4 separate regions of the Homo sapiens genome follow, and all the other regions are linked to region 3. The links are contacts of gene promoters, found by promoter capture Hi-C in blood cells and fetal thymus (Javierre and others, 2016). All regions are on one chromosome and are shown on one strand. Each heading gives the region's core, a stretch centred on a gene start or on the middle of the fragment in contact. The rest is flanking DNA. Distances are from core to core; before and after follow the strand shown.

Region 1 (4,213 bases), core at 624-3,123, 470 kb after region 3:
ACTCTAACCCACCTCAACTGATACAATAGATTTATCAACCTTAAATAGCCTGAAAGATGTTCTAGGATAAGTATTGTCTGTGAATGAATGTTCACTAAACATACATCTGAACCATTCAGGAATCTCTTTTAGAGAGATAAAAATTGTTTATATTAATGCTGTTTGAAAAGTATTCTCTCAATACTCAGATTCTTTTATAACGTATGGTAGGCTTTACAGTTACTGTTTTAAGCTTTGTTTTTGTTGTTTTGGTTTTTTTTGTTTGTTTTTTTTGTTTGTTTTTATTTGAGACAGAGTCTCACTCTGTTGCCACGCTGGAGTGCAGTGGCACGATCTCAGCTCACTGCAACCTCCACCTCCTGGGTTCAAGTGATTCTCCCACCTCAGCCTCCCAAGTAGCTGGGACTACAGGCACCACCACGCCCAGCTAATTTTTGTACTTTTAGTAGAGACAGGGTTTCAACCATGTTGGCCAGGATGGTCTCGATCTCTTGACCTCATGATCCGCCCACCTTGGCCTTCCAAAGTGCTGGGACTACAGGCGTGAGCCACCACGCCCAGCCTAAGCTTTGTTTTTTTAATGTTATCCTTATCCACTATGCTATTAAAAGTTTCCAAAAAAGATGTGAGTTTATATGCATGTTGTATGTATATGCATGCTGTACACATGTATTCACAGAGACACAATCAGACAAAAAGAATCTCATCTAGCTATCTGGCAAACCTACCTGTCTGCAATCAGCAAAAATGAGTAAGTATAAAAATGCCTCTAAGTAGTTAAAATAAATGCTGCAAGGTCTTTGTAATAAAAATCATGCAAATTTTCAAAGGTAGGATTCCCAGGTCCCACTAAGGGCATCAATTCTTATTTTAATTATGGTTCTAAGAATTGTCGTTTTTATAAACAAGTTACTGATATTCCTGTAGCTTCAGCCTTCTCATTTGTAAAATGAGTATATTTGTATAAGAGCTCCAAGGTTATCAGCTAATCTTCAGCAAAGGCGCCAAGAATACACAATGGTGAAAGAACAGTCTCTTCAATAAGTGGTGCTGGGAAAACTGGATATCCACATGCAAAAAAAAAAAAAAAAGATCCTTATCTTACACTATACAACCAAAATCCACTCAAAGTAGATTAAAGATTTAAACCAAAGATCTGAAGCTGTAAAACTTCCAGAAGGTAAACATATGGTAAAAAGCTTCATGGCATTGGTATTGGCAATGATTTTTTGGATAGGACACAAAAAGCACAAGCAACAAAACAAAAAATAGAGGGGAGGACTACATCAAACTAAAAATTTTCTGCACAGCAAAGAAAACAATCAACAAAAAAACACATAATGGGAGAAAATATTTGCAAATCATATATCTGATAAGCAATTAGTCTCTAAAAGATATAAGAAGCTCACACAACTCAATAACAAAAAACAAATAAACCAATTCAAAAATGGGCAAAGGACTAAAATAGACATTTTTCCAAATAAGACATACAAATCGCCAACAGGTATATGAAAAGGTGCTCAACATTGCTAATTATCAGGGAAATGTAAATCAAAACCACAATGAGATATCACCTCACATGTTAGAAAAAAAGAAAGAAATCCTACCATTTACAACAACATGGATGAACCTAGAGAACATCATGCTAAATGAAATAAGCCAGACAACAAAAGACAAACACTACATGATCTCACTCATACGTGTAATATTTTTTAAAAGTCAAATTCATAGAAACAGAGAGTAGCAGGGTGCTTACCAGGGGTCAGGGATGGGGAAAGCAAGGAAATATTGGTCAAATGATATACACTTGCAGTTATAATATGAGTAAGTTCTGGAGACCTAATGCACAGCACAGTGATTACAGTGAATAATAATGGACACTTGAAATTTGCTAAGAGAATAGATCTTTGTTCTCATCACAAAAAAGAAGATAATTATGAGAAGTGATCCATACTAATATTAATTAGCTTGATTCTGGTAATCATTACACAATGTATATGTATATCAGAACATCACATTGTACACACCTTGAAGATATATAATTTTTATTTATCAATCATATCTCAATAATGCTGAAAAAGAGTTCCAAAGTTAGAGGAAAGATGTCAAAGTCCCTAACATGGTATAGCACACATAAGACACAGAATAAATTATAGCATTATTAAGAGGGTTATTATTACCTGCTTCCCTAGCCCAGAAAAAAAGAAAGTGGTAAATTAGAAAGGGGGTGAAGACACTGTCAGCTGTGAGAAATGACAGCTAATGCCCTAACAAAAATAAAAGAGAACATCTATAAAACACATATCAAATAATCCAAAAAAGAACATCTGTCTGGGCTCAGTTAGCATAGGAGCAATTATGAGCCCTATATATCTCAAAAAGAGAAATATCATTGTTAAGTGGATTTAATATAGTTTGGTATAGCTCTTTTTTTGCAAAAAAGAACTTTTGGCAGAGATGCTAACTGCTGCCCCCAACAGCCATTCTTTCTTTAGTAGTAGAATCATGAATTATCACTAGACACATGGCCATCCAAAATAAAGCTTCCACTTACAGTCCTCTATTTACAGACGCATCATATTATTATGTTCTTCTCAACAAGATAGGAGCAGAGGTTATACATACAACTTGCAGACATGCCCTTACATGGACCAACTATACACTTCCCTCCCCTCTTTGTAGCATCATGGTAAGGCTGGAGCAGTTGTCTTGGCCTCAGAGATGAAAGTCACGTATTGTGGACAGCAGAGCCTCTCTATCAGCCCTAGACTCCTTTATCTCCAGATGGTTAAACACGACAGAAATAAACATCTTTTTGTTTTGTTCTGAGATGGAGTCTCGCTCCCTCGCCCAGGCTGGAGTGCAGTGGCACGATCTTGGCTCACTGCAACCTCCTCCTCCCGGGTTCAAGCAATTCTCCTGCCTCAGCCTCCCGAGTAATTGAGATTACAAGCTCGCCACCACCCCTGGCTGATTTTTGTATTTTTAGTAAAGATGAGGTTTCACCATGTTGGCCAGGCTGGTCATGAACTTCTGACCTCAGGTGATCCGCTCACCTCAGCCTCCCAAAGTCCTGGAATTACAGGGATTAAGCCACTGCGCCCGGCCAAACATCTTTCTTATTTAAGCCATCATTAAGTCTAGTCTTTGTTAAAGCAACCAAACCCAGATCTTAAATAACACAGAACCTAATCTGAGCCTAAAGATCCATCCAGCATTGCTGTCTCTTAAAATTTAGTTTCACTTAACTGAACCCTGGTACCAAAAATAACAGGTATAGGAAAGATATTGGGACAATTGGGGGAATTTGAATATGACTGCATGTTAGATAACATTAAGGAATTATTGCTAATTTTCTTAAGTGATCATGGCGTTGTGAAATGTAAGAGAATATTCTCATTGGGAGATGTGTGCTGACGTATTTATGGTAAAGTGGTGCAAGATGTGTAACTCACTTTCAAATGGTTCATCAAAAAAAGTGTATAAATACATATATATTTACAACTTGATGTGGTAGAAATATGGGTTTTCATTTTACTTTTTCTATATACTTTTTCACAACAAAAATATAAAAAAATTAAGTCTAAATATATACATTTTGTATGTAAATACAAATGTCGATATATTTTCTATTAAGATATGAAATATTTATGCAATGACCTTGACCTGCGGTGGAAGATATTATGGTAACCAAAATAATACTCTTGATATCTGTGTTATTGAAGACTGTAAGCTCAGAACATGTGTACTTGCAAGCAGAAGTACCAATAAAATTTGTGTTCATTTCAATATGTGGTATCATCGAACCACAAATCTTCAGTCTCCCAAAGACCTCAAAGAAGTGGTCTTCAAAATGTGGCCCCCAGACCAGCACCATTTGCATCACCTAGGAACTTCTCAGAAATGCCAATTCTAAGATACCAATCTAGGCCTACCATATGAGAAACTCTGGTCACAGAGCCCAGAAATGCTAGGTTTTAACAAGCCTAGAGACTACTACGGTGCATGCTAAAGTTTCAGAACCACTACCTTAGCATGATAGGATGAAAAAGTAAGGCCTGAAGAAAGCTTGAGCCCCAGAGAAAACCTGGCCTGTTAGCATATGATATGGTTTGGATCTGTGTCCCTGTCCAAATCTCATGTCAAATTGTAATCTCCAATGTTGGAGGTGGAGCCTGGAGGGAGGGAGGTAATTGGATCACGAGGGTGGTCC
Region 2 (4,350 bases), core at 281-2,780, 300 kb after region 3:
ACCCTCTGCTTAAAGTCTTATTACATGTGCTTTTTTTAGATATTTTTAAATACCTGTTTCTGGTAACAGGAACTTTTTTAAAAGTTCATTTTGAGATATTCTCTTACTAGTGTAGTTCTCACACATTACAAGAGAGAAGGCTGCCAGGCATTTTCCTGGACCCTGCCTCAGAATCACCAGGGAACCTTTTAAAAAAAACATCTCTTCTCGTTTGAAATTTGGTGAGTCTAAGGGTGGAGCTCAGGAATCTGTATTTTTTAATGTTCCCCTCCAGACTGAACCCAAAGCAAATTTCAGAACTACTAAAGTGTCAAATGTATACATTTCAAGCAGCATCTAGCTGGCAGCAGAAAACTGTTCTTTGGAAAAGGAAGAGTTCTCTCCTTTTATAAGAATAGAAAGTAATCTTCTCTCTATTCTCTGGAAATGATAAGCCAAGTTTTCCTATATTCTTCCATAATCACCTTGCTGGAACCACTTGTTCTTCAAGCATGAAATCAAAAAGATAGAATTTTTTTAAATATACAATACACATAGTGTATGTGTGTGTTTTTCCAGCTACAAGGTGATGAGAAAAGCAAAGTTCATCATTAGTTAATGTCAAGTTTGAGACAGACTGTATTGCTGGTGGCCGGAGCAAAAAAATGCCACTGAGTAGCTGAAAACTCAAAAAGTGTCCTTTAAACCAATCAAGAAATTAATTGAAAGTTTAGTAAAATTTACTGAACTTTCTTTTCATTTTATTTGCTTCACTTCAAAAAGGAATCAAAGTGGTCCTTTCACTTTCCCACCTGGGAAAAAGCTTTACTAGTCAGACTTGTAATTTTAACCAAATCATGGCTACCCCCTGGTGGCTGCTTACCCCAATTACAAGGTTTTTAGAGAGGTTTAAATTAACATACTGAAAGAAGACTTCAAGTTTTGTCTTTGAAGAAGGAACAGAAACTAAATTTGGTCTCGAAATGTCCTGGTATGCTCATTCTTGTAAAGTAATGATCCCAGGCCTTTAATTTATTTCCTGGGGCACCTATAATTTCTGAAGTTTACTGACTCTGAATTGTGTTGCTGAAACAATGCAAGATTTTTAAATACTTTTTTTTTTTTGCTTTCTACATTTATATATTCTTCACACATCATATGAAAGGCCCTCTTAATCCTAGACCCTGCTACCAGAAGCACAGTGTGCACACCCGTGGGCCCTGACTCAAAAACCTTTGTTTTTCTCATCCCCTTATAGCTAGAAACACACACACACACACACACCCCCAAGGTATACATTTTCATTTTAAAATTCTATCTTTTTGATTTTGTGCTTGAAGAACCAGTGGTTACAGCAAGGTGATACATGCCTCCCCTGCTGTATTCCCACAGGCTCCAGGCTGCTCCTGACCCCAGCAGCAGAGGCAGATGTTCTCTGCTATGGAATCGGGTCCGCACTTGTGCTTTTGTGGTCAATCTTATCACGTAGCCAGGCCTGTTAATGTCTCAGCCCCTCAGCAGGTAGCTTCTGTAGTATCTTTAACATGGCTACAGCTTCCAATTTGGCTGACTTTCTACCTCCTAAATCAGCAAAGTGTTCCGATCCCTGGCACTCATGATCACTGTCCTGGCCTGTTTGGAAAGCGGCATTCAGTTCTGATAGAAGGGTCATTGACCTAGTCACCCCAAGTTCTCTTCCAGCCAGTATTCCTTCAGGGACATTCATGTGCCAGACATAATTCAAACAGATGTGCTCATATATAAACTAAGGCCAGGCACGGATGGCTCATGCCTGTAATCCCAGCACTTTAGGAGGAAAAGGCGAGAGGATTGCTTGAGGCCAAGAGTTTGAGACCAGCCTGGGAAACACAGCAAGACCCTGTCTTTATTTTTAAAAAATAAAAATAAAAAATAAACTGAACATTCGCATTTATTAATTATACTTTTCTTTAAAAATCTGATAGCTCTGTTTCTCTGGTAATTAGCTGTCTTCTCATTGTTGAGAGCCAAATATAATCTTTTGTGCTTCTATTCTTAAATTATCACATTATAAACAGAAGACATAATTATTATAAAGTAGGAATTTAAAGCAGGACAATCAAAAGTAATTGAATTGTGGTAGCTAGAAAGCAGGAAAAGTTGGGCAACTATTTTACTACTTAGCCAATATTCTTAAAAACACCAACACAATTAAAGTATCATCACTATGTAATCACAAACCACTAAAAAATATCACTTTCTCTCTAAAAATGGGCTAGAAGTTAGAAAGAGAAGCTTCTTAAAGTAAATCACCAACAGTAAGAAAAATCAGCTAATTCTGCTATGGTAAATATTTATTCTTTGTGGTACACATCAAATATACAGTGGTCTGCATCAGAATAATATTTATTCACAAAGTAAAATGAATTACTTACATGTTACTGTGAAGTAATATGTCACACATTTTTTAAAAGACAGGAGCATACCATACAAACATAACTGAAACTAGCAACCAGAGTTAACTATATTTACGAAAAGCTATAGCAGCTATAACCGTACATACAATTTATATTTACAAGAAAAAGCACTTTCCAAACAGTATGTACCTTATGACCCAATTTAAAAATATTTCTATTTCTTATTTATATTTATACATAATCCAACACATTCATAAATCTGGAAGGCTATATACTAAATTTAAACTATGATTTTCTGGGTGGTGCAATTAGGGTATTGTTTATTTTTATTCCCTTCCCTTTTCTGTATTTTCTGACAAAGAATTCTGATATTTAGTACTTGTGTACTTTTTTAAAAAGTTATATTGAAAAGAAAAGCAAGTAAAATACACCATGCTAATTTTCAAGTGTTATCTGGAGGTACCAACCATGTCCTTTCTTTAAGAAAGATCAGTGTTACTTAGTAAATTAGAGAATGCTTTTCTTGTTTGAGGCCTTCTCAGAGGATGGGGAGCAGGAGTGCACATAGAACATTGTTCCAAGATCTCTACTGTTTGTTTCCATCATTTTTAAAATCTTAAATCCCTCTATATCTCAACATTCCAGACTGACTAAGAAAAGACAAGAGTATGTTTTGCAATAACTAGCTTTTGCTGCACTCTGCTGGAACATTCCCTAATGTTCTGTACAAAATGATCAATAAAGTATGCCTAGGTCTTTGCTACATCTGGTTAAAACGTTCTCATGGAGGTTTATACATTTCTATGAATAATTAAGAATATTTTCAACTAACAAAATGGATATAGTTTACAAACATACACACCAAGTATCATCATGCTCACATATTAATAAATGGCTACACATGCAATAGTTGATTATGATGTATGACAGGGAGTATTTTTAAATGGTGTATGTTTTGCACTCCCTCACGACTAGATCTTTTTTCTTCTAAACAAATTCAAAGTTCTATCTTCAATCATGTAAAAGTCGCTGTAAATTCCTTGGACGTACCTACTTGGACTCACAGTTTGTAGAATCATTTGTTTACAGTAAAAAAAAAAAAAATTAAAAATCCTCACCAAATTAAAGCAGGCAGTTCTACAGTTTAAATAGCCAAATGACTTAAACCTGCTTTATCTAATGATCAATCCTTCCATTTCTACTCCTTTACTGCCTCCTCCAAAACACACCTGCAGTCAACATTCTGCATGAAGTTCTTTCGCTGAAAAGCAAATCAATTTGTGTTGGCCCAAGATGCCACAAAACAGTGTCTAGAGAGGCCTCGATGATACGGATGCAATGGAAAAGAATAGTGGCCGGCTTGTTTCAACAATCTTCCAAGGGTAGTGAAGAAAAACTTTCACCTTAGCAATGTCTTGGGAGTTGCAAACACAGAGCCTGGCAAGAATCCCAGCATACACAAAATACTTCTCAATTTTTACTAATACCTGCTAAAATTATGTTTTGGCCTGTCTGCCTGGAAAGAAAAGTCTGGAATGACCGCTTCTTTTGACTTTATAATCTGCATAAATCTCTCAAAGAGGGTTCACAGGAAAAGTTTCCATGGAACATTTCTTTTCCAAGAAAAAAAAGCAGTGGGCTCCTCAGCATCATCTCTGTCTCTGTGGATTTCTCGGCTATGCTATCAAACAAGAGTAGGGAAATGCAGGAGTCCCGAGGCCACAGAACCAAAGCACCTGCTGCATGGCTTCAGCATGGATTCCTGCCCAAACCTCGTAACAGTATCATCATAAGCCAGGTGCATACTAGTGTCCCCGTGTCTGGTGCTGGTCAGGCAGCAAACCCAGACCTCATTGCCAAAATAGTCAGGGTCTTGTTTGGCATAAGTGACTTGCTACAATACACAACACTGTGTTGTAGAGAAGACACTGACCTAGCAAAGGGAAGGGAGCCAGCACTGATAAGCCATTTGGAA
Region 3 (4,351 bases), core at 1,094-3,593:
CTTCAAGAAGCTATTATCACCTCATTTTAGACAGGAGACCGAAACTCAGAGATGTTCATTAATTTGCCGTGGCCACACAGCATTGATTGGAAAAGGCAAGGACGAACTGACAACTAAGTTCATGCCCTTTCCAGGGTATCATGTCACCTTTCAAAATTGAGGACCCTAGAATCTTCCAGTTGATCACTCTCTCCATGTGCCCCAGCCTCTTTCTGCCTGCAAACGCAGATCTAACTGGATCCCAGAGACGATCACTACCTCCCTTATTCTTCACCATCTCTATGGAAGGAACCCCTACCTCCTCCCTGGGGCAAGGTGCATGGGAAACTGAGTCTGCACCACCCATGGGGCAAGGCTGCCATGCTTGGACAGAGAGGCCAGGCATTCCAGACAACTCCCCCTGCCCCACCCCCACAAGGAGAGCCTGAGGGGTAGGGTGAGGAGGTGCTGGGGAGTTTCCAGTTTCAGGAGCTGTTTGCCCTAAGATGGAGAAAGACAGGTCACAGCGGTGCTCCAGTGCAGATTTGAACAATTTGTTGCAGCCACAGGAAACTTCCGAAATGTCTTTCCCAGCAGCTCTGCCTCCGCCAGGAGCAGGAGCATGTTTGTGTGGCTGCAGGGCACCGGGAGCAGCGCTCTGTGCTCTCCCGGCTCCCTGTGGCAACAGGAGCAAGAACTTCGGGGGGTCAGGCATAGAAACCACAGCAATGAGATCTGACTTCAAAAACACAGAGCCGCGATGTCCACTTCCAGAACACACAACATCTGGATGGATCACCAACAAGATTCCTGCGACCTGAGGTGGAGGCAGGGCAGGAGGCGTGCCTCGGGCCTTGTGGCTTGTGGGGAAAACCTGTCTCCCTCGCAGCCCCCCACCCCCCTCCTTCACTCACGCCTGCATTGTTGTGGGGCTCCCAAGTGAGTGTTCTCTAAGCACTCTAGTGGCCTCATTCCCAAACACTCCTCCCATCACTTTATCCCCAGCTCTAAAAATTGTTCTTGCTTCCTCTTAGCCTAGAGCAGTGCTTGAAGGAGGATAGAAATTTCCTGGGGGTCTTGTTAAAATGCAGGTTGTGATTCAGCAGGCCTGGGGTGAGCCCGGGCTTCTGCGTGTCTAACAAGCTTTCAAGTCCAAGGATGCTGTTGGTCCCAGGACCACACTTTGAATGGCAAAGGCCAGTACGTATGTCCCAGATTCCTAAGTCTGGTGTTCAAAACTCTGGGCCCCTCCCCCTAGACTACCTTTCTTACCTCCTTGATCTCTTCCCCACCCCTGCGATGCTCCGGGCAGAGTCACCTGCCAGCCCACAGGCACACCCACACCCCAGCTTGCCCACCGCGGGGGTTCTGTGCCCACCATTTCCCTCAGCAGGAAAGCTAGCACCCAGCTCTGCCGTTCAAATCTTACCTCCTTCAAGTCCTAGCCTTCCCATAAAGACCATTGTCTTCCTTACAGGAAGAGCTGCATTCCAGAGCCATGGCATACAAAGGGAACAATCTCTGCTTTCTCAGGAAGTGTCAAACCCAGACACTGTTTGGGAGAGACAGATCTGGGCCGCCTCCCTAGAGTGGTGGAGCAACCCCTGAAAGCTGCCTTGGCTGGGACCATGGCTCTCCGATGGGAAGGCCTGCTGCATGATGGCCCTTTCGGAAGGGCATTCACTAGAGTCTGGTATGCTTAACAATTTGGAAACCAGGGTCCGTCATGCAGTGAATACATGTGTCTGAGAAAATCTGGCTGATACAGATAGAATTTCATTTTCATGCTTCACCTTGGTAAGGCCAAATACCAGCTAATGAAAAGTGGATTATGAATTCTTTTTCTTTTTGAGATACAGTGTCACTATGTCGCCCAGGCTGGAGGTGCAGTGGTTCGATCTCATCTCACTGCAACCTCCACCTCCCGGGTTCAAGCGATTCTCATGCCTCAGCCTCCTGACCTAGCTGGGATTATTGGTGTGCATCACCACGCCAGGCTAATTTTTGTATTTTCAGTAGAGACGGGGTTTCGCCATGTTAGCCAGACTGGTCTTGAACACCTGGCCTCAAGTGATCTGCCCACCTCGGTCTCCCAAAGTGTGGGGATTACAGGTGTGAGCCATCGCACCTGGCCTGTACTTTCTATAAAAATATTTTATACCATCTGATATTTAACTGGAAAATGACTGCAGAACTCTTAGCCATCCTTTGTTTTAAATATTCAAAAGCACTTACCTGACACAGGCCCCTAAGAAAGGCTATCTGGGGCACTCTTTTAGTTTTTCTGTTTTATTCCTGATGGTGAAATTCCAGCCAAGATTTTCTGGTTGTGGAACCTCTTCTGATTCTGCCGTTTCACTGACTGGAAATGATTGCTAATTGGAATGAAAATTTTCATCTTATCTGCCCCTCTGTTATTTTGCAGAGGAGGGTGTGGTGTTATCAGTTTGCAGTGGGGTTTAGGGGTGGTGTCAGCCTTGCAGAAGGTTTGGTGGGTTTTCATTTCCCTGGCTTTGCTATCTGCTGTTTTGAGGGAAATGGGTAACCGGATCTTAGAATCCCTGGATGTGAAGAGATAACATTGACTATAGGCAATTCTATTTACTGATAAAAATAATATAGTTTTCAAACAGTCCCACAATGAGTCACTTCTAAATAGTCAGAAATACATTTCCTGCTATTATTCTTTGAGACTGAATTGATAATTTTATAAAATTACTCCCCTCACTAAGGTAGTCCTATTGAATGCATGCCGAATTTGCAACATGGTCTTAAATCTGCAGTACCCTGGTCTTTTGGGACCCACCAGATATGAATCAAAGTCCCGAGCATATTCTCTCATAAGAAATGTACTCTACTTGCTTCTTGCTGTTCACGTTACCAAGAAAAAGAAATGTATTCTACATCTAGCTCCCCTTCCTGAAAATAACAAAGAATAGCATCAGAGCAAGAGTCAGACAAAATCTACTGGCAAGAGTCCAGAATGTCAGGGCACTAGCTCTTCAGCCATCCCCCTCTTTGGCAAAAGGCAAACATCACAAATCACTGATAAGCCAAAGCCTCATCTAAGCACCGAGTGTGGCTGTGGGCTCTTGAAGCAAAAGTCAAGAGACCTGGATGCTATGTCCTGCTGCTTTGCCCCTCAACAGCTTGGTTACTTTGGGCAAGTCTTTTAATCAATGTGAGCCTCAGCTTCCTTATCTGGAAAATGGGGTTAACGACTGCCCCACTTACCTTGCAGGATGGCTGTGACAGTCAAGCCAGATTGTTCCTGGGCAAGCACCTTCTAAATTTACACAAAGAGGTGAGTGCCATGTGATTGGCAGGGAGTATCCGCTGCCGGTTCTGGGGCTCAACAAAGCAGTTCTGTCTTCTGCTGTGCTCCCAGCCTTCCCTCCCAACCTGGGTTACCTTTTAAAGATAGAAGAATTGGCTGGGAGCAGTGGCTCACGCCTGTAATCCCAGCACTTTGGGAGGCTGAGGCAGGCAGATCACGAGGTCCACAGATCGAGACCATCCTGGCCAACCTGGTGAAACCCCGTCTCTACTAAAAATACAAAAATTAGCTGGGCGTGGTGGCACACACCTGTAGTCCCAGCTATTCGGGAGGCTGAGGCAGGAGAATCTCTTGAACCCAGGAGACAGAGGTTGCAGTGAGCCAAGATCGCTCCACTGCACTCCAGGCTGGTGACAGAACAAGATTCTGTCTCCAAAAAAAGACAGAAGAATTATGGGGGATAGGGGTCGAAGTGGAAGAAGGAAAGCAACAGATATTTTAGAGGGATCAGAGCCCTGTCCATTTCACATGTGATTCTTTGAATCTGTCTCCTGCATGTCCTCACTGAGTCCCCAAACAAATTCCCCAATCCCATCTTGTCACCCAGCTCAGTAACAGAATTAGTTAATCCCAGTTAACCTAGATAACTTATCTTTTCCCCATTCCTAAAGAACAGAGGCCATCATTGTGTCTCCACAGGCTCTCTCAAGGGAGATTACCCTTCATCTTCTCCAAAAGGTGGAGAAGGAGACAGTCCTGATAGAAAAGGGAACCTTCAAAGGATTCTAGTGTCTCCCCGGGACTGGAAGGGAAGGGAGCTGTGATCCCAGGTGTGGAGGCTCTCCTTCTCTGGCAACCCTCGGGAGGTGACAGGGCCTCAGGGAGAAATCGTAGCAATGGCAAAGCTCTGCCAAGGAATGGTGGAGCCACCAGCCTCCCAGGAGCATGAGGACTTAGCAGATGAGCACATCAGTAGTCACCCCTGTGGACCGAAGACCAGAGGACTCTATCCAAACGATCTGGGCGAGTGGCCACAGGAACTGAGAGGAAGGGGCATTTCAGGAAAGTCTGCAACTGAATTTCCTACCATCCTGG
Region 4 (4,152 bases), core at 669-3,168, 490 kb after region 3:
TGTTAGTATAGGAAAGGTCTTAATGAGAATACAAAGATCAGAAGCCATAACAAAAGATTAAAATATTTGATATCATAAAAAATTAAAACATCTGTATGATTAGGCAAAGTTGGGGCATGGTGGCACGTGCCTGTAATCCCAGCTACTTGGGAGACTGAGGCAGGAGAATCGCTTGAACCAGGGAATCAGAGGTTGCAGTGAGCCGAGATTGCACCACTGCACTCCAGCCTGGTGACAGAGCAAGACTCTGTCTCAAAAAAAAAAAGTTAAAAAGATAACCCACCACTCATAGGCTGTGTGTTCATGGGCAGATTGCTTAATCTTGCAAATCTTAAATTTTCTCATGCCTAAAAGGAGAATGATCACCTATTTTACAGGGTTGTTTTAAGGATTAAATGAGAAAGTTTAGTTTAAATCCTTAGCGTAGTCGTAGGTAGTAGCACCAAGTAAGTCCCCAATATATTTTTTATTATTATTATAAATTATGCAAATATAAGAAGATGTCACTTTTGCCTGATGAAGATTAGGAACTTTTAAAAACTTTCAAAAAATGATACTACCTGGTATTGGCACAGATATTACACACAGCTAATGAAAACATAAATTAAGCCCATCTCTGTGACATAAGACAATTTAAAGTATGCGTCAAAAGCTTTTTGTCCCAATTATCCAGTCCTGGGATTTGATTCTAAAGAAATATCAGAAATGAACACTCATGGAGATTCAAATACTGGTAATTTATAACCACAGTATTTTTTAAGCAAAATATTAGAAACAATTCCACTAATAGGGGTATACCACAGAATTCTTTACGACCATTTAGATTTATATTGCAATAGAATAATTATTGACTTGGGGAAATGCTCACAATATTTTTAAGTGAGAAAAGGACTTTAAATTAATAAATACAATATGAATCCACTTTTACTGCATATAAATTCACAGTAAAAAGGCTAAAAAAAATCCTAAAATACTCATTTGGTTAAAGCTCTCAGTGGCAAAAATAGAAAATACTTTTTCCCTCTTAATGCAAACTTCATATGAAGTTTTCTACAATGAGCATGTTACTTAAGTTAAAATAAAAACAAGGGTCGGTCATGTTGTCTCACACCTGTAATCTCAGCACTTTTGGAGGCTGAAGCGGGCAGATAACCTGAGGTTGGGAGTTCGAGACCAGCCTGACCAACATGGAGAAACCCTGTCTCTACTAAAAAAAATACAAAAATTAGCCAGGCGTGGTGGCCCATGCCTATAATCCCAGCTACTCAGGAGGCTGAGGCAGGAGAATTGCTTGAAACTAGGAGGTGGAGGTTGCAGTGAGCTAAGATCGCGCCATTGCACTCCAGCCTGGACAGCAAGAGCGAAACTCCGTCTCAAAAAAAAAAAGACCTTTGAGGAATCACACTCCCCACTATTCCTGAAGTTCAGGCCCCACCAATGACTGACTCTGCCATGGGACATGATGATCAAAGTTTGGGCACACATTTTTTAAAATCACATGTTCAAACATGTATATTGAACCTTGGCAAGAAGGCAAATGTGTTAGAAGACTTTTAGCAAAAATGGTGACCTAAATATTGGCGGATTTATATCCCTCTTTCCAAAAGCACTTAGATAATAAGCAGTCAGTCTGAAAAGACTATTGTTATTTAATGGAGCAAACAATGTCCACTGTATATGAAATGGCTCTCTATTCTTGAGGATGAGGGAGGAGAGGAAGAGAAGAGAGGACAGAAAGAGCAGGCTTTCACCTCATCAGAAAGCAGTTGACACAATTTCTATCCACTGAAATTTGTCATCTGAACCATCAAAAAACCAGACTTCTACTGATCTTGATTGTCACAAGAGTAAAAGTTTGAATAAGCATCCATTACTGAGAAGCATACCTAGAGCTGATAACTCCTGAATCTTTATCAATTTATTTTCATAGAGTGAAAAGTCAGTGAAAATCTTCCATTAGCCAAATGGGCTTTCAGTGAGAAGGTTAATTTAAATGGTTGTTGAAGAAGGTACTAGATGAATGTGGTAATCCTGAAGTGAGGAACCTCTTCCTCTGAGCTTATTTGATCAAGCTCTCTGCAAACTTTCTAGAATATTTAGCCAACTGCCTCTATTTTCCACCACAAGATCAACACATACCACTACTCTTAAGTGAAATTAAATGTAAATGCTAAAATGTATGTCACAGACAGATCAAGAGGATACACACCCATGGGCTTTACTGTAAAGGCATATACTAAGGCAGAGTGAGCCACTGCAAAAACACACTGTCCATAATTGAAATTTTAGAAGCAATCTCAATGACTAAATAATGAAATATCCAAATATAGAATTGTACATAGCTCAAAGAAGAACAAAAGTCTGTGTGTTTGGACATGAAAAGATGTCCGTGTAACTGAAATGAGGAAGTTACAAGCTAATATACAGAGTGACCTCATTTATGTAAAACAACATAAAACAGAACCAAATATGTTTATAAACGCATTGAACATTGTATCCAACTGCAAGGTTGCTCACTATTTTATTTACCTTGGCACAAGAGTGAGATTTCATCTGCAGAAGGGAAATGAAAAGGAACTTTTCAGTTTTGGTTTAATAAAAATGTATTCATTTTATATTTTTAATATATAAAGAATTACAAATAAGTTCAATGATTTATAAATATAAAAACTATTGAAAGCATTAGATATACATCAACAGATGACTGATTAAATTAATTATAATGTGTATGCATGTGTAAAACACAAATTGTACGTCATTAAAAATGATGAGGTAAAAGGGTACAAAGTTTCAATTAGACTGGAGGAGTAAGTTTTAATGATCTATTGTACTGCGCAGTGACCACAGTTAATAATAATGTAATGTATATTTCAAAATTGCTAAAAGAACAGATTTTTAATGTTCTCACCACACAAAAAAAATAAGTTGATAAGGTGAAGGATATGTTAATTAGCTTCATTTAATCTTTCTACAATGTATACATAGATCAAAATATTACATTGTACCCCATTAATATATAAAATTGTCAATTAAAATACATTAAAAACAATAACAATCCTACTAGCACATATTATAATGTGTTGTATAAATATTTATAAATTATGTATTTTTTAAATGATGAGGTAGATTTATATATATTGCCATAGAAAGACAGGCATAGTATATTGTAAGGGGAAAAGCTTATAATGGACAGTATAACCCATTTTGTTTAAAGTATGTATGTGTATATAAATAAATATATAAAATTCTGAATTAGCAATCACAATTAGTCATAAAATTTAACAACATCCACAGTCGTAATTGTTTTGTATTCATTTAACTGTATTCTCTAATTTTTTTTTCTTTTTTTTTTTTTTTGAGATGGAGTATCACTCTGTCACCCAGGCTGGAGTAAAATGGTACAATCTCGGCTCACTGCAGCCTCTGCCTCCTGGGTTCAAGCAATTCTCCTGCCTCAGCCTCCTGAGTAGCTGGGATTGCAGGTATGTGCCATCACACCCAGCTAATTTTGTATTTTTAGTAGAGATGGGGTTTCTCCATGTTGGTCAGGATGGTCTTGAACTCCCAACCTCAGGTGATCACCTGCCTCAGCCCCCCAAAGTGCTGGGATTACAGGCATGAACCACCATGCCCGACCTTGTATTCTCTAATTTATAAACAATACAGTAGTGGTGTAATAAGGAAAAATACTTCTTAAAGTAGTTTCATTACTTTCATTTTCGTTACTCAAAAAGAGCTATATATCTAAAGTCAAGAATAAATAAATGCTAAGCCAGTTTCTTGTCAGACAAAGTGAAAAGTAAAAAGATTGTTTACATAATTTTAAAAATATATAAAATTTGGGAGAAAATAAACAAGCATTTCTGGTAAAGGTGATTAAGAGTCTGGAATCAACTCTACTTTTCCCCTTCACTTCTGGTATATGTATCCACTACCTCAGTGACTTTGAATCTTTAGTGCATACATATTTCCATCTTCAGTCATGTGGATCACTTTAAAAGTCCAGTTGATTTTGTCAAGGACAAAAAAGTGGCCAGTAAAGGCACAAACTTAATTTGATGTTATTCCAACAGAAGCTGCTACATTTTAATGCATCTTTATAAAACCCATAAAACAAGCACTATAATGAAAAAGAATGCCACAAAACTACTA

Evidence for each region. The method cuts DNA at HindIII sites, captures the fragments that hold promoters and counts their contacts. A CHiCAGO score of 5 or more calls a contact.
Region 1: a contact is called between a fragment that was not itself captured here and the fragment with the promoter of FLJ20712 in region 3, in 1 of 17 cell types (endothelial precursors). The highest score is 6.2, in endothelial precursors.
Region 2: a fragment that was not itself captured here is called in contact with the fragment with the promoter of FLJ20712 in region 3 in 2 of 17 cell types (megakaryocytes and M1 macrophages); the score reaches 6.3 in megakaryocytes.
Region 4: a fragment that was not itself captured here is called in contact with the fragment with the promoter of FLJ20712 in region 3 in 1 of 17 cell types (M2 macrophages); the score reaches 5.9 in M2 macrophages.

The regions. Positions count from the first base shown.
Region 1 is chr7:33,252,226-33,256,438 of GRCh38, reverse strand. The region is part of intron 5 of BBS9 (Bardet-Biedl syndrome 9); the gene reads right to left. Among named protein-coding and RNA genes, the nearest start is that of BBS9, 120 kb to the right of the region's middle. The HindIII fragment of the contact is 1,344 bases long and covers 1,202-2,545 here.
Region 2 is chr7:33,420,309-33,424,658 of GRCh38, reverse strand. All of the region lies in intron 19 of BBS9 (Bardet-Biedl syndrome 9), which reads right to left. Among named protein-coding and RNA genes, the nearest start is that of BBS9, 290 kb to the right of the region's middle. The HindIII fragment of the contact is 1,451 bases long and covers 805-2,255 here.
Region 3 is chr7:33,723,973-33,728,323 of GRCh38, reverse strand. FLJ20712 (a long non-coding RNA gene) reads right to left here and starts at 2,343. Exons shown (of 2, transcript NR_165282.1): 1 at 2,215-2,343; 2 at 1-796. The HindIII fragment of the contact is 5,749 bases long and covers 1,125-4,351 here.
Region 4 is chr7:33,235,531-33,239,682 of GRCh38, reverse strand. The region is part of intron 5 of BBS9 (Bardet-Biedl syndrome 9); the gene reads right to left. Among named protein-coding and RNA genes, the nearest start is that of BBS9, 110 kb to the right of the region's middle. The HindIII fragment of the contact is 2,527 bases long and covers 655-3,181 here.